Regions from separate parts of the Homo sapiens genome. Here region 2 is linked to region 1. Evidence: promoter capture Hi-C in human tissues and cell types (Jung and others, 2019). All regions are on one chromosome and are shown on one strand. Each heading gives the region's core, a stretch centred on a gene start or on the middle of the fragment in contact. The rest is flanking DNA. Distances are from core to core; before and after follow the strand shown. Region 1 holds the start of RAPH1 (Ras association (RalGDS/AF-6) and pleckstrin homology domains 1). Region 2 overlaps CD28 (CD28 molecule).

Region 1 (5,420 bases), core at 662-3,161:
GGAGGATAACTTCTTGAAATAATTAGGTGGCAAATGATGATTCCCACAAGAAAGGAAGAGAAGTCTAAAAGAAGTTGGTCAGCAGGATCATCTTCATTTATAAGAGATAGTATTATTCTTTTATTATTTTTATTTTTTATTATACTTTAAGTTCTAGGGTACATGTGCACAACGTGCAGCTTTGTTACATATGTATACATGTGCCATGTTGGTGTGCTGCACCCATTAACTCATCATTTACATTAGGTATATCTCCTAATGCTATCCCTCCCCCCTCTCCATCCCCCCAACAGGCCCCTGTGTGATATATTCCCTGCTTTGTGTCCAAGTGTTCTCATTGTTCAAGTCCCACCTATGAGTGAGATCATGTGGTGTTTGGTTTTCTGTCCTTGCGATAGTTTGCTGAGAATGATGGTTTCCAGCTTCATCCATGTCCCTACAAAGGACATTAACTCAACCTTTTTTATGGCTGCATAGTATTCCGTGGTGTATATGTGCCACATTTTCTTAATCCAGTCAAGAGATAGTATTATTCTATACAAGAATATTGACATACCTACTGAACTTAAAATACAAAAGGGCAGTTATGTTTCAAAAGTACAGATATCTCAAGTGTGAAAGGCAGCCAGTATCTGTATTGTATGGTTCTAAATACCAATTTGAAACAGATTGTGTACCAGTTTGGAACAGATTGTACAAAAAAGACTGAAACCACTTGAAAGTCCTCAAGAATATCAGGAAGTAAGAATGTAATTAACCAAACCAGGATTTGGCCCCAGGACAGAGAAATGAACACTCTCATTCTTAGAGAGGGAGCTAGGATTTCAGGAATGTACAGTCAATGCTTTGTGAAAATTTAAATAAATTCTTAGCAAGCAGATGGGAAGACATGAAAAAGCAATGTTCATTGCAACCAATTTCAGGTCACACTCCCAATTTCTCAATTGTTTTAATGCTGTCAACAAACTTGCTTTGCATGTAGCCAAGCAAACATAACTTAGTTCCATTTGTTCCTTTCTTTGATCAACTTTAGGTGAAGGTCAAAATAAGGACATACTTAAAATCTAAAAGTCTGCCGAAGTCAAGCCTGCATCTAAAGAGGCAGCAGCTGAGCTTAGCGATAAGGAAAAATGCCGACACCTTACTACTACACAATTCCGATGGGGTGGGGGGACAGAAATTAAGGAGGCAGGATTAACAGATTTCGAAGTTTAAAAAGTAAAGGTCATCGAAATGTCCCGTTCCTAAGTTTCCCAATACATTCCATGAAACTGCAGAGACTTTTTGGCCAAAATGGGATTTCCTAAAGAAGGGCCTCACAGATCTCAACGACAATGGTCCTGTAAGTGACCGAGCCAACCCCGGATGCGTTTCTGGAGTCTCTGAATACACGGACAGCGTATAAAGGTGGATGCGTACAGCTCCCTGACAGAACTGCTGGAGGCTGCTGTGCCTCCCAGGGCGCTAGGACAGAGGCTGCTGGGCCGGCTTCCTATGAAAGGCGAGCAGGGGGTGGGGCAGCACTGGGATTTTCCTCCCCACTCATTCATTCTCTGATTCACTCGTTCCTGTAGGCGGCTCACAGGGACTTGCGGAGGAAAGGCGAGGCACGAGCGGAGCCGCGGTTGAGTGCGGCCGGGCGCGGCCGGGCGCCTGAAGGGAGGGCGGAGGGCCGGCGCGGGGCGCGGGCTAGGGAAGGGCGGCGGGCGCGGCGGCCTGCGCCGGAAGTGAGTGGTTGGCGGCGGGCGGGGGCGGCGCGCGGTCCCGCGCGAGTCGGCCCTACAGTCGGCAGTCCGGCCCTCAACCCCGCCTTCTGCGTCTCGGCTGGACGCGAGCACACTCGGCTCCGCCGCCGCCGCCGCCGCCGCGGGGCGCTGCGGCCGCCCCGCCCCCGCTCCCGCCGCCGCCCGCCAGTCAGTCAGTCAGTCAGTCAGTCAGTCAGTCAGTCAGTCACTGAGCGCGCGGCGCGGGAGCTGCTGGCAGTCGCTGCGTCTCTGGCGAGGGAGCGCCGCGCCTGGGGAGGAGGCGGAGGCAGCGGCTGGAGGAGCGCGAGCGGCGGTTTCCTTGCCCGGGGCCGCGGGAAGGCCGACCGACTGCCGCGGTGAGTGGTTAGCCTCGCCCTCGGGGCCAGGGGGTAGGGAGCCGGCTGGGCGCGGGGCCGTGAGGCGCTCCTGCCGCTCCCGCCTCCATTTTCCCGGCGCCCGGCCCCGCCATCCGGGTGCGGTACGGTCGGCGGCAGCCTGGGGCGGGGTCGTTGCCAGGTTGGGGATCGGGCCGGGGCTGGCTGGACCGCTCCCGGCTGGTGGATGGAGGTCGGTGGGGCCTGGACTGCACCCTGCGCCCCTGGGGACCGCGACGGAGGGAGACAATGAGATAAGGGGCCGCCTGGGAGGGTGCGGTTAGGCTTCTCCGACCCAGCACCGGGGGCTGGTGGCCCGGGACCGCAGGGAGGAAAGGACTTTCCCCCGCCCAGCTGCAGAAACCAGCTACTGGATGTCGGGTTGCTTGGGTTTCGATGCCCCCATCTTTCATAGATGAGTTCAGTGCAGAGATTTTGAAAGGCGGGGCTCCTTCTGTGTCTTCTTTCTAATTAAACAGGATAAGTAATTGCTTCATTGCTTTTTAACCGCGTCTCCTCTTGCGGTCTGTATTATACATTCCCGCCGGAAATCCAAACTGCAATTCATGGGGGGGGGGGGGGGGTGGACGGAGGGAGGGGGCAGTGTGATAGTATTAGGATGCCTTCGTGTTAAGACAGGTTGAAAGATGTGGTTTTCTTAAGGCAGTGACTTAGGGTGTCCCCACTGTGTGAGCTGGAAACCGCATAAACCTTATTGCTTACAAGCTCGAAGACATGGTTTAATATGAAATAAGAGCCTTGAGGGAGGGTGTAAGTGTTACATGTGTCTTGCGTGTGTGCATTTCTTAAATTCTTTGGGAAGATCCGTTGGGGAAATCCGGGAGAATGGAAAAGTTCTTCACTCAATCTTCCAATAAGGGTTGATGTTGTCTGCAGCATTTCTCAGGGAAATGTGGAGAGCTGCTTATGTAGGTAAAGTCCACCGTTAAGGAACAGTAAAGGTAACGGGTTAGGGATGAGGCGTGATCGGATTATTAAAGAGTCAGTCCATGGGGATATTAAATTCAGCAAACATTTATGGAATACCTACTCTGTCAGTTAGGCTGGGTGACACCAGGTGAACAAGCATGGGGTGGTGGAAAGAGCTCTTCGGAGTGGGGGAAACCGTACGCCCTGGAATTGGCTTGCAATGTGAGTTGGATAAGCTATTGAACTCTGCAGTACGTTCCCTATCAGTAAAATGGGAATAACACCACCTGTTTACCTCCCCAGATGTTTTTCATGTAGATTAAATGAGATAATGTATGCAAAATGCGTAGCACCTTGCCTGGCATAGAGGTGTTTAACAGCACCTTAAATTCCTTTCCTCCTCGGGGTGGTTTTTTTGGGGGTGCGGTGCGGGGGGTTAGTGAATGTAGGTAAGTGTAATACAGTGAACTATATAGTAAAATGTTGAGGTATAGAATAGGAGAGCGAAGAAGAGAGATTAATTCTAAATTGAGGGAGGAATGCATGGAAGCCTCGGCATTTAAGTGAAACCTTTAAGGATGAGTAGGATTTCAGCAGATTCAGATGGGGAGGAGGACATTTCACATGGTGGTGCTATCCTTTGAGAGCCGAATTGAGGGGGAGGACCTTTGGGGGAGGGGCAAAATAGAGACGCTCAATAGCTTTTAACTCTTGTTGAGTCTGACCTTCAAAGATTGTCTCCGTTATTTTGCTTTTTGTGTGGTGAATTTCCCAGAAACCAGATGCAGCCCTACTCAAGTAAGTACAAAAAGCTTAATTCATGATTTTTTGGGTTAGACATTTTGTATAATTTAGATTGCTGTCTCCTGTTTGAATGTAATAAAGAATTATTTGTAGATGTTGCCTTATGATAAACGTTAGCTTTATTTGGTAGAAGCAGCAGCTTATTTTTCAGACTCAGAGGTCTCACTAAGATTATAGAGTATGTGACTGGGTGAAAGGAGTGGAGTAGTGGGCACTATTGGGTGTGTTTTCACAAATATTTAACTCTTTATTTTCCAAAGAGGTGTTTTTAACCATTGTCTTTGAGGATGATTATGTCTTTTGGTTTTGCTGCCCTTTGGTGCTCACCCCATAAATACTTACTAGATTGGCATCGTGGATAACTGTCACACTATTCACAGATTCTTGGTTACACATTGTAGAATCTCATGGCTTTGGTTGCCTTGGTTTGGAAGTAATTGAATGTCAACATTAGTATTGTTAATCCCAAACACTTAATTTTAGGAAAATTAATATTAGTGAAGCAAGATGTGACCTCAGGCAGATAACTTATCTTGGACTCTTAATTCCTTTACCTATAAAATGAGAAGTTTGGATTAGATCACTGCTTCTTAAACTGTTTCACTGAACTTGAGAATTTCAGAGATTCTGCAGATGTTTGACTTTAATCTCAATAAAAATGTATTTTAAACTTATAATAATAAAAAGTGGCCACTGTATGACGTACACTGTTTTAAACACTTTATATGTGATAATTTATTTAATTCTCGCCATAACCCTATGAAATAGAGTCTATTATTTGAGAAAATAGGCACAGACAATAAGTTGCCCAAAGACTGCAGAGCTATAGTGGCAGAGCTGGATTTGAAACCGGGCAGCCTAATTCTTAAGCTTGTATTCTTAACCATGTTTTTACACTGCCACTAAAGCAACACACACATATACTCTTTGAAAGAAATGTGGTAAAGTATGCATAACATACAAATTACCATTTTAACTATTTTTAAGTGTACAGTTCAGTGGCTTAAGTACATTATTGTGCCATCATCACCACCATCTCCAGAAATTTTTTATCATCCCAAACTGAAATTCTTCCCATTAAACAGTAATTCTACAAGCCACAGTGCGCTATGATCATGCACACTGGGTGACAGAGTGAGACCCTGTTCAAAAACAAAACAGTAACTATCCACTTCCCTCCCTCTACCCTACCCTCCTAGTAACAACTTTTCTACTTTTGACTCACACAATATTGATTCTTGTGTCTGGCTTATGTTACTTAACACACTGTCTTCAAGATCATCCATGTAGGATGTATCATAATTCCATTCCTTTTTCAGACTGATTAATATTCCGTTGTATGTATATACCACATTTATGGATATTTGGGTTGTTTCCACCTTTGGGGTACTGTGAATAATGCTGCCTTGAGTATTGGTATACAACTGTTTGAATCCCTCCTTTCGGTTCTTTTTTCAGTATTTCTATACACCCAGAAATGGGATTGCTAGATTGTATGCTAATTCTATATTTAATTTTTGAGGAACTGCCATATTGCATTCCACAGCAGCTGCACCATTTTACATTC
Region 2 (5,436 bases), core at 1,977-4,476, 190 kb before region 1:
GGAAGGATTGATACTAAGTTTTTTTTCTTTATTTTAGATAATAACTTTATTGAGATATAATTCAGGTACTATAAAGTTTGCTGTTTTAAAGTGTAAAATTCAGAGATTTTTTAGTATATTCACAAAGTTATGAATGAATCACCACTATCTGATTCCAGAACATTTTCATTACTCCATAAAGAAATACCATACCCATTTACCATCACCCTGCTTCCTCCCTCCCTTAAATCCCTGGAAACCACTGATCTACTTTGGCCCTATGAATTTGCCTATTCTGGACTTTTTTTATAAGTAGAATCATACGATATGTGGCTTTTTGTGTCTCGTTTCTTTCACTTAGCATAATGTTTTCAAGTTTCATCCATGTTTCAAGTTTCATCCATGTTGTTGCATGCACCAGAACTTCACTCTTCATGGCCAAATAATATTCCATTGTATGGCTATACTACATTTTGTTTTTCTATTCATCACTTTTTGGCTATTATGAATAATGCTACTATGAGCATTTGCATACAGATTTTTGTGTGGACGTATGTTTTCAACTCTCTTAGGTATTTGCCAGCAGTAAAATTGCTGGGTCATATGGTAACTCTATGTTTAACTTTTTGAGGAATCGTCAAACTGTTGCCAAAGCAACTGCACCATTGTACATTCTCACCAGCAGTGAATGAGGGCTCCAATTTATCCTCACCCTTGCCGACACTTGTTATTGTTCATCTTTTCTATTATAGCCATCCTGGTGGACGTGAAGTGATATCTCATCATGGTTTGATTTGCTATTTCTCTAATAACTAATGATGCTAAGCATCTTTTCATGTGCTTATTAGCCATTGGTCTATTCTTTTTAGAGAACTCTCTATTCAGATCATTTGCCCATTTATTAACTGGTTAGGCTATTTATCTTTTTATTATTGAATTATTGGAGTTCTGTATGCATTTTTTATACTTTTTTTTTTTTATTTTTACAGAGTCTCACTCTGTCACCCAGGCTGGAGTGCAGTGGCATGATCTTGGCTCACTGCAGCCTCTGCCACCCAGAATCAAGCAATCCTCCTGCCTCAGCCTCCCGAGTAGCTGGAATTGGAGGTGACCACCACCACCCCCAGCTAATTTTTATATTTTTAGTAGAGATGGGGTTTCTCCATGTGGGCCAGGCTGGTCTCAAACTCCTGACCTCAGATGATCTGCCTGCCTCAGCCTTGATACAAGTTTCTTATCAGATATGTGATTTGTAAATGTTTTCTCTCATTCTGTGGATTGTCTTTCATATTATCTTAAAAGTTCCCCCACTTGATTCTAATATTCAATTGGGTTGAAAGCCACTATGGCCTAGTGGAATTCACCTGACAACATATTTAGAATCACCTGGAAAAATCTAAAAGCCTTTGGTTTTCCAAGGCCAATTAAATCAGAATCTCTAGGTATAGGACCCAGGCATCCATTCATATTTTTTAAGTTTCTCTAGTAATTCTAGATGGCAGTCAAATTTGAGAACCAGTGGCCTAACAGAGGAAAACTAACTTCTTATCCTCAAATCGGCCTCCACAGGTTTTTCCAACCTCATTTCCTCAAACCGAAGCCCTCCTAATTAGACCATTTAAGCCAACATCCCAAGAACAGACTGTGAGCATTCCTACCTCCATGCCTTGTCTACTAACTCCTTGGCACAGAGCACCACTCCCTTCTCAGGTCTCAAAATGATTACTATCTGTATCGCTCACTTGACATTTGAGTTCTACCTTTTAAACAACTCTTGTTTCACATGCTTCAATTTGCTTAGCTTTGGATTCATGTGCATTTCCCTTAGGCCCCTGGTTTCCAAGTCTCTTGACAGAAAGGACCACATGTTATGCTTCTTTACATAACACAGTATGACTAATAGACTCTCATAAAATAATTGTGGAGTGAAAGATGGTGATTCGGCTGTATTGTTGTTATCAGCAGCTAGGTTTGACTACCATCTCATTAAATCCTTTTTGGAAACCTGTGTCAACAACTTTAACTTCACCTATTATTTGTTCCACAAATATTTTGCAAAAGCACTGAAAAATAAACATGCAAAGAATCAAAAAGTTCGACCTGTCTTAATACAAACATCCAATTTGTTTTTTTGTTTTTGATTTATTTTGTTTGTTTCCTTTTTTTACTTAGAAGGAGTCATTAGGTCAGTTCTAATTGGAAGAGCAACCAACTCCAGCAAGCAATGCCTGCATCTCTCCTCCTTTTCAGAGAGTGAGTGCAGGTTAGGCATTTGTATTCTGCTTGCTCACCGCCCTGGGAATTGTGTTTCTATTGCTAATTATTTGGATTCTGTTTTAATGCACATTCAAATTCTTCCTGATCTGCCTTTGTGAGCTGATTTAAAGAAAAAGATGGGAATGAGAATAGGACTTCTTTGTGGAGACAAAAAAAGGGAGTGTGGGTGGGCTGGAGAGAAACCCCAGATGGCTCCCCAGTTTGACTCCCTCTCCCAGCACACACAGTGAGGTGGAGAGAGGGAAGGGAGAGAGAGGAAGGAAGAAAAGCTGTGGCATCTAGAGTCCAGTGGTTTGCTGAATATGTCCTGTCTAACTCAGGGTGTGACATGTTCCTAAGATGCACATGGGAGAGAAGAATTGATTTCCCAAAAATGAATGCCACTCAATTCCCGTCCTACGGCAGCTCATGATCTGATGGGGAAGAAAGATATAAATAGACCCTACTTTAAACATAGTGACACAGTGATCTGCACAAAACTTCCGGGGGCAACAGGGAAACCAGCTAAGGATCTCAGGAGATGACGGCTGACCTGAGTCCTGAAGGAGTATGCATACATGGATTTGACCAACTTTTACTAAGTAAAAGTTAGCCTGGCTAAGACGTGTCTTTGTGTTGGGGACTGGGGTGAGGTGGGAGAGTGTGTGTTTGGGCTGGGGTGAGTTAGGGGACTGTGGGGAGGATAAGACAAAGAGAGAAAAAGAGTAGTCTGGGCAAGGGAGATGAGGAGGGTAAGAGTGTGGCCGACTTGGGGAATTACAGCTACCTTCTTTTTGCTGGGCCATGAGTTACAAAAGACAAGATTGTCAGAGCAAGCATAGTTCACTCCATTAGAGAGCTTGGGCTCTCTTCTGAAGGTGATGAAGATCTACTGAAGGCTTTTATGCAGAAAAGTGCTAAGATTTTGCTGGAAAAGAGCTTGAAAACTATTTGTTTTCGATAAGGCCATTTGAGGAAAAGCCATCCAATTTATTGCTCATGTTTACTTTCCTCCCTCTTCTTTGTCAACATAGATCATTTTTAAATTAGCTGGCTCTCAAACACAGATACTGTGCTTGAAATCGTTTGCTTACTATGTGTTAACATGTAGCTAACAGCCTCCTAGTTTAGAGTTCAAGCTGAGTTCAAGGTTGGCTGATAAAATCTCGTTTCTCAATATTTATATCCTCATAGCATTTGGTCCCACCTTGGTTCATGTCAATAATTCAGAGAAGCCTAAATAGGAAACTATCTCACAGGACCTCAAAATCTCTATATGCTTTGCAAGACAGTAAATGAGAGAAATTTACTTTTGGTGCTAGAAAAAGATAACCAGTGACTCTAAGTGATACTGAATATGTGTGATCATTGTGACTTTGAGTAAACACAATAATTCTGATTTCTCTTATTTTCTTTTAAAATGGGGCATGTGTAAAAATGCACACCCCTTGCTCTATGAAGTAAAAACATGGAGAAATCAAAGTAGCTGATAATCAGAATATCAGATGACATTTGGCTTTGATATGTATTTTCGGTCTCTGAGTTTCTGAAAATCCACAGTACTTCAAATAATGTAAGGACATATTACAAATGTAAGGACATATCTAGACTCAGAAGAAACCCAAATATGTAGCTCCCTCGTCCTAACTTGTGTTTGATTTCTTTTTGCTTTCCAGTTCATGCTAGGAGTGGAAGGCATTCTTCTTAGGCTACTTGGGTATCAGGAGACCCAGCCCTTTCCCTGTGAATATTTGATTTTACTTCTTGTGAGTGTTCAGGTAAGGTCTACCTAGGTCAAACCTACTAGGTTAAAAGAAACATTGTCAACCCATCCATTTTCTTTGCTTACGTTATCAAAAGATTGGTCTGACTGACATTTCTCTAACTGAATTGACAAGTTGTTTTGAAGGTGAATTTAGTGCTTTGCTTTTCAAAGCCTTTCCTAGCAGCTAAACCAGCTAAAGGTGTGGAGACAGGAAGCACTAACCTCAAACCTCTTTCCCTCACAGCTCCTGCTTAACAACAGGCAACATGAAGAGTGAGATTGGAGGTGAGAAGGTACTTATCTGCTGCTTGTGAGCAAGGTACTGAGAGCTAAAAGATTTCCCACAGATAATCTGTGAATCTTGTGAAACAGCCGACTTCAGGAAAATTGAAAGTTGCTTGAACTTCCATGAGAATGGCAGTGGGTGGTGGGGAAGCTTGGTTACAAAAAAAAACAACTCTTGCCGTTTACACCTATTATAAACGGGTCAATTACCATATTTAGTAATGAGGTCAACCCTCTGCATAGGTGGGGTGGTAACCACCTCTAAGGTGTGGCTCCCAGCATCAAAGAACCCTGACCTTAAAAGGACCCTCCCACCAGCTCAGTTAATGCTTAGATTTCCAAAGAAAATGAAGCCCAAAATGCAATATGGGAAACACATTGGCTTAATTTAGTATCTATGGCTTACATTCACAGGGCTATAAAATGCTGTCTCTTATCTCATCTGAACTCTATATTCAACTGTGAAGTAAATAGGCAGGACAGTCATCTTTATGCCCATCTTACACATGGGGAAACTGAGGTCAAAGAGGTAGATGAGTTGTCCAAGGTTACAGGAAACATAAGTGATCCTTGAAATTTAAGCTCATAACTTATGACTTCTAATCTATTGTTCATTTCCTTCTGCCATGTTGCATCAAAATTTCAACACAATTGCAGTGATTGGTTCTAGATCCTCTCAAAGTTGGACTTGATAGGGAGGATGGTACCAGATGTCTGGAGTGAGGGTTAGGGAGGAGATTACCATTAAGTAGGGGAGTGAATGGAATGGGAAGAGGACCAGAACAAAATACATTTCATTTTCCCCACTATTTTATTAGAGTCTTATCCTGCAAAAAACCACACTCAACTGGAAGGGAACTTGGAGATGATCTATGCCAATTCCTTATTTTAAAGAAGAGGCTATTGGGGGGAAAAAAAGAGAAGAAGTAAATGACTTTTCAAACAAGGTCACACAAATAATGGAAGAGCTAAGATGTAATTTATTTATTTAGACATCTAGGAGTAATGTTTTAAATCATAAATGGACAGAAAAACAACTTTGTTCATTCAGCAAGACTGAATTTATTTCATGCTCATATCTAGAAAAAAATACATTTCCAAATTTTTTGCCTCTAATGCACATATACAAAACATTTTGCTTACAATTTTGA

The links. Contacts are between HindIII fragments. The study calls those that stand out against the background at their distance.
Region 2: a contact is called between a fragment that was not itself captured here and the fragment with the promoter of RAPH1 in region 1, in 1 of the 25 tissues and cell types used here (mesendoderm cells).

What each region holds. Positions count from the first base shown.
Region 1 is chr2:203,531,792-203,537,211 of GRCh38, reverse strand. RAPH1 (Ras association (RalGDS/AF-6) and pleckstrin homology domains 1) reads left to right here and starts at 1,911. Exons shown (of 14, transcript NM_213589.3): 1 at 1,911-2,101. RefSeq lists silencers at 1,763-1,832, 1,883-1,972, 2,043-2,142. The HindIII fragment of the contact is 20,173 bases long and covers 1-4,292 here.
Region 2 is chr2:203,719,012-203,724,447 of GRCh38, reverse strand. The region is part of intron 1 of CD28 (CD28 molecule); the gene reads right to left. Among named protein-coding and RNA genes, the nearest start is that of CD28, 15 kb to the right of the region's middle. The HindIII fragment of the contact is 6,145 bases long and covers 154-5,436 here.